Linked DNA regions of Homo sapiens: region 1 is linked to region 2. Evidence: promoter capture Hi-C in human tissues and cell types (Jung and others, 2019). All regions are on one chromosome and are shown on one strand. Each heading gives the region's core, a stretch centred on a gene start or on the middle of the fragment in contact. The rest is flanking DNA. Distances are from core to core; before and after follow the strand shown. Region 1 overlaps ZNF121 (zinc finger protein 121). Region 2 holds the start of UBL5 (ubiquitin like 5).

The links. Contacts are between HindIII fragments. The study calls those that stand out against the background at their distance.
Region 1: a fragment that was not itself captured here is called in contact with the fragment with the promoter of UBL5 in region 2 in 1 of the 25 tissues and cell types used here (neural progenitor cells).

Annotation. Positions count from the first base shown.
Region 1 is chr19:9,569,994-9,573,110 of GRCh38, reverse strand. All of the region lies in intron 1 of ZNF121 (zinc finger protein 121), which reads left to right. Among named protein-coding and RNA genes, the nearest start is that of ZNF121, 13 kb to the left of the region's middle. The HindIII fragment of the contact is 3,682 bases long and covers 1-3,117 here.
Region 2 is chr19:9,826,390-9,829,414 of GRCh38, reverse strand. UBL5 (ubiquitin like 5) reads right to left here and starts at 1,497. Exons shown (of 5, transcript NM_001048241.3): 1 at 1,431-1,497; 2 at 1,022-1,088; 3 at 740-823; 4 at 541-578. The coding sequence starts at 1,077. RefSeq lists a silencer at 1,381-1,687 and enhancers at 1,731-1,780, 1,191-1,915. The HindIII fragment of the contact is 8,707 bases long and covers 1-3,025 here.

The sequences.
Region 1 (3,117 bases), core at 124-2,623, 260 kb after region 2:
TCTGTGCATTGAAGGATTAGTTATTTATTACAGTCTTTGTCTGGCTTGTGGTTTTTATTGGGTATGTTTTCTTTTTATCTTTTTTGTTGTTGTTTTGAGACAAGGTCTCTCTCTGTCACCCAGGTTGCAGTGCCGTGGTGTGACCATGGCTTACTGCAGCCTCTACCTCCCAGGCTGAAGCAATCCTCCCACCTCAGCCTCCTGAGTAGGTGAGGTGCACGCCACCACACCTGGCTACTTTTTGTACTTTTTAGTAGAGATGGGTTTTCATCTTGTTGCTGGTCTTGAACTCGAGCTTAAGCGATCTGCCTGTCTCAGCCTCCGAAAGTGATTTTCTTTCTTTAAAATTTCCCTAGGTCACTGCCTCGTTTTCAGCACTAGATGGAATCTTAAACCCACGTTTGCCTTTGCTATAGCAAACTATCAAGAATACTGCCCATTCAGAATGAGGGAGTCCTAAAGGGCATATTCCAGCACTGTGGGAAGGCTGGCTGTGTGTTCATGCCCAGGTGACCTGTGTAGCGTACCCCTACAGTATGGTGCTCCTGAACAGCCACTCTGACTTGGCTTCTCCTTTGGCCAAGTTATAAAACAGAGTTTCCAGGGCTGGGATGGTAGTCCTGCCTCCCATCTTTGTCCCTGGATGTCCTCAGGGATGTTTCTCCCTTCAGGCATTTGTAATGCTTCCTGTGGGTTGAGACAGGGAGGGACTGATCTTTTACCAGGGAACCCAGGATGATGGAGAAGGTGGTTGTCCACATTGATCTCAGTTTTTTCCAGTGTAGAAACTGTGAATTGGTAGAAATTTTCCACATTCTTGGAAACTTGATTCTCTTAACGTCTCCCTTGGAGTTTTTTCACTTCTTTGTAGCCCCAGAAACTGCCTAATTTTTATATTTTAGATCAGGGATATTGCTGGTGATAATTTTCACAATATGCATTTGGTTGTAGTTTTCTGTCAGGGGATTGAAACCAGCTTGCTTCTGTACTACCATTTTGGAACCGTAAATGCTGCATGCTTCTAATAAAGTTGTCTAAGGTATTTTCAGGCAGGGCACAATGATTCATGCCCGTAATCCTAACACTGGGAGGCTGACGTGGGAGGATTGCTTGAGACCAGGTGTTTGAGACTAGCCTGGGCAACGTAGTGAAACCTCATGTCTATAGTAAAAAGAAAAAGAAAAACAATTAGCCAGGCATGGTAGTATGTGCCTATAGTCCCACATACTCGGGAGGCTGAGGCAGGAGGATTGCTTGAGCCCGGGAGTTTGAAGTTTGAAGTTGTAGTGAGCTATGATCATGCCACTCTAATCCAGCCTGGGTGACAGAGTAAGACCCTGTCTCTAATTTTTAAAAATGTGTTTTCTACTTCCTATTCATTGGATATGATCAGTATAATGGTGTCAACATAGTGTACTAGTGTGGTGTTTCATGGAATGTCATTTTCTCTGGGGATTAAGTTACGACAGAGACCTCGAGAACTGACACATTCTAGGGGCAATGTTATGAAGATACATTGTTGGTCCTGCCAGGTGAAAGGTAACCAAGTCTTGTTTTTTTCAAATTGGTATGGAGAAAAGACATTAGCTATGTCAATGCCTGCATACCAAGTGACAGAAATTATGTTGATTTATCTAGTAAAGGCATTACATTTTGAAAAATGGCGGTAATTGGAGTGATCACCTAAGTTCATGATTTATGAATGATTTCAGTGTGGTAATTGAGTGACAGGTTATGATTCTCCACTGGGATAAATCCAGTTTTTGGCTACTATAGTTTAGACTTTTTACATAGATGGAGCAGTATTCAAGTACAGAGATTGGTACACTATGGCCCATGGGCCATATCTGTCTCTCCATGTGTTTTTTGTATATAAAGTTTAATCAGAACACAACCGTGTTCATTTGTTTACATTTTCTATGGTATTTTCCATGCTACAACAGCAGAGTTGAGTAGCTGCAACAGAGACCATGTGGCCCATAATGCCTAACATATATTTTGTGGCTCTTTAGAGTAGGCTTTGTTAACTGCTTATCTATTTCATTTCTAGGGACAGCACGATCAGTTAGCCACCACCACAGATCTCTGTAGGTCAGGGCATTCTGATTACTGGTACATTTCCACTGTCCTTGATAGTTGATTTTCTCACCTTGTGTTTGGTGATTAAATACTACCTTCTTGATTTCTGCTATTCTGGGTCCCCTTCATCTCGATTGAAAGCAGGGAACTCGGCTGGGTGCGGTGGCTCACGCCTGTAATCCCAGCACTTTGGGAGGCTGAGGCGGGCAGATCACCTGAGGCCAGGAGTTCTAGACCATCCTGGCCAATATGGTTAAACCCCGTCTGTACTAAAAATACCCCCCCCCCTCGCAAAAAATTAGCCAAGTGTGGTGGCAGGTGCCTGTAATCCCAGCTACTTGGGAGGCTCAGGCAGGAGAATCGCTTTAACCCAGGAGGCGGAGGTTGCAGTGAGCCTAGACTGCGTCATTGCACTCCATCCTGGGCAACAAGAGCAAAACTCCGTCTCAAAAACAAACAAACAAACAAAAAAACCCAGGGAACTCATCTCAGTGATGGTATTCTTTGCAGTCATACCTGTCCTATGAAGGAGAATACCAACAGAGCTTTTCAAGGATTACGACACTCCCGCCACTACTCTCTTAATAACCTTTGTGAAGAGAGTGTCTTCTGCTCTGTCAACAAAGGGCGGGGGAGTGGGCTATACAGATGACACATAGTAAATCCAGTGCAACACTCCTGTCTCTCTAGGATTCCCTCCTTCACATTATGCCAGGGAAGCTCTGGCATATGAGCCTCATTAATTATAACAATTTCAGCCCTGAGAACATAAGAAATAACTTTATTTCAGGGGTGTCCTAAAGAAGCTCTCTGATTCTTTTGTTTTTGGATGGAATCTTGCTCTGTTGCCCAGCCTGGAGTGCAGTGGCATGATCTCGGCTCACTGCAGCCTCTGCTTCCTGAGTAAAAGCGATTCTCCTGCCTCAGCCTCCTGAGTGGTTGGGACTACAGGCACGTGCCACCACGCCCTGCTAATTTTTGTATTGCTTGAACTAGGGTGGGCGGCGGCAGAGGTTGTAGTGAGCGAAGATTGTGCCA
Region 2 (3,025 bases), core at 248-2,747:
GAGGCCAGGAGTTTGAGACTAGCCTGGCATACATGGTGGAACCTCATCTCTACTAAAAATACAAAAACTAGCAGGGAGTGGTGGCACACACCTGTAATCCCAGCTACTTGGGAAGCTGAGGCAGAATTGCTTGAACCCGGGAGGTGGAGGTTGCAGTGGGTCAAGATCGTGCCACTGCACTCCAGCCTGGGCGACAGAGCCAGACTGTCTCAAAAAAATAAATAAATAAAATAAAAATTGTAAAAAGTTTCTGCTCCTTTTGCACAATAGATATGCCTGAGTCTCACCCCACCCTGACCTACTGTCCAGCACTCAGGTGGAGGTCAGTAATAAATATTTTGAACTTGAAGTCAAACTATTTCACCAACCACTCTCCTCCCCAACCAAATAATTACCTAGCTCCCATTTTCTAAGTGCTCACCATGTGCCACGTATTAAGTTAAACACTTAATATGCATAAGCTCATGCAGACTTTAGTTTTGAACAGATAACCGAGGCTGGGTATGTAGATGCTTCCTCAAAAAGTCACACAAAGGATACAGTCCCCCAGAGACACGTGGTCCTTAAAAATCGTGTACCTAAGAAAAAGAGACATTTCAGAGATAAGGCTAAGGAGGCTCTTCAGTCTGTAGGCCAAATGAGGTAGCCAAGCCTAAGCAAAGGGCTGCCTGCAGCGCTCCCCCAACCAAAACCTTCCGGCCTAGTCCAGTCCACCCAGTGGCTCTACCGCTGCACTCACCACTTCTTCAGGACAATCTTGTTCCAACGGGTACCAGTTTGGGCTGCAATCAGCTTCTTAAGGTCCCCGATGGTATCATCCGTGCTGGGCGCAGAGCAGTTAAGGCAAATGGAAGCGGTAGAACGAGGAAGAGGACATTCTAGGGCAGAATACCATCTGCCAGGACCCCATCCGCCCCCTCTCCCGGGTTTAACTAAAACCATCCGACAACACAGATTGAGTTGCCTGCCTCACGCCAAGCACCCCTGCGGGTACCACTGCCTCTCGGCTGCCAGTGGATACTTGCATTTAACGCGGACCTTCTTCCCCAGACGGTCGTTGCAAACAACCTCGATCATCCTAGCTGGAGCTACACAAAGCGGGGGGTGGGTGGGAGGCAGCAAAGTCAGAGCTTCAGGCGTCTCCCAGGCCCAGAAGCCCCAGCCTACAAGTCTCCCAGTCCCAGGCCCTAAAATTCCAGGTTACTGAGCCTTCCGTTCTGCCCCCAACCCCCCGGACTCGAATACTCCCAGGCCCCAAGTCCCCTGTCCCAGGGCCGCGAACCCCGGGGAGCCGCGCCTCCGCCCCTTCTCGCCGCCTGAAAGCCCTGCCACAAAACTCCCTGGCCTCACCTCCCACCGACCCCAGACCCTGGGTGGCTGGGTCGCGACAGCTTTCTCCGACTCCGAGCCTCTCCGCTTGACCCCCTCACCTCGAATCGCCTCGAACCTGCCGACGCCACCAGCTCCTCACCCGAGCGCTGAACCCCGGTCGCAGTTAACGCTAGGAACCGGAAGCGGAAGTTAAAGTTCGAGGCCGGAAGCCCTGCCCCTAGCCAGGGGGTGTGGTCAACACTGGGACAAGTTCTTCCGGGTCTGCAGTCTGTGGTGTGTTTGCTGTTCCCAGGTACGGTTTCGGTGTCCCAAGGCTTGACAGGTGTCGCGCCTGTGGTAGGCGCGCCGGGTAGAGAGGGGGGCCTCGGCGGGTTTGTGGCCAGGGAAGGGGCGTGGAGCGAGAGTCAGAGGTCAGGCGCCGGCGCCCAGCTCGTTTGAAGTCATTGTTTGTTGCAGGGAGACTCGGTCACATGGTGGGGACGCCAGAGGGTCCCGGGAGTAGGGGTAAGCTCCTGATCCTGAGCCCGAAGCCTCTTGCAGCGGCAACTAGGAGCAAGGGCGGAGGGTGGGGGTGGGGGACGAGTTCTGCAGTCATCCCTTCTGACCCCCTGGGTTCATTCAGGGCTGGGCTTGGTGAGCATTTGGCTCACCTCTTCCCTCTGGCCATCGCGTTCCCCCGGGATACGGACTCCAGTCAGTAGGCGAAGCTTGATCCTAGAGTAGACTCTACGCTGCCCAACAGCTGCTGTTACCGCATGGTGCCGGACAGTTCCAGGCTCTTGGTGTCCTGAAGAAAGATTTGGACCAGACACACAGAGATGGCAAAGCTGCAAGTTTATTAAGCACAGTATTCCACTCTCGGAGTGGGGAGAGCGGACTGACCTCTGCGAGATAAGATCAGCCCCAGCTTGGTATAGTTTGGGTCTTTTTTTTTTTTTTTTTCTGAGACGTAGTCTCGCTCTGTTGCACAGGCTGGAGTGCAATGGCGCGGTGCCGGCTCACCGCAACCTCCGCCTTCCGGGTTCAAGCGATTCTCCTGCCTCAGCCTCCCGAGTAAGTAGCTGGGATTACAGGCGCCCGCCACCACGCCCGGCTAATTTTTGTACTTTTAGTAGAGATGGGGTTTCACCTTATTGGCCAGGCTTTTTTTCTCTTCCCAAGGCTGCCTAATATCTAGCCAGTGTCTACCTTTTTGAATGATAGGTGTGTTGCTTACTTTGGCCCCTGTGTGCTTGAGAGCCGCCTCCATTCATGATATGCCGTCCATATGCATGAGCGCTAATGAGCTGGTTATCCTTATCATGTTAAGGATACTTTTTGTCTTTAATGCGCGTGCTTATGCCTAAAGAGCTGCTCCTTACTGGTTTGGTCCTGATTTCCCCGGCCGTGGGATTTTTACTGTTTTTTTTTTAATTTTATTTATTTATTTATTTATTTATTTATGGAGTCTCGCTCTGTCGCCCAGGCTGGAGTGCAGTGGCGTGATCTGGGCTCACGGCAAGCTCCGCCTCCCGGGTTCACGCCGTTGTCCTGCCTCAGCCGCCTCCCGAGTAACAGGGACTACAGGCGCCCCCCACCACCCTCGGCTAATTTTTTTGTATTTTTAGTAGAGACGGGGTTTCACTGTGTTAGCCAGGATGGTCTCGATCTCCTGACCTCGTGATCCGCCTGCCTCAGCCTCCCAAAGTGTTGG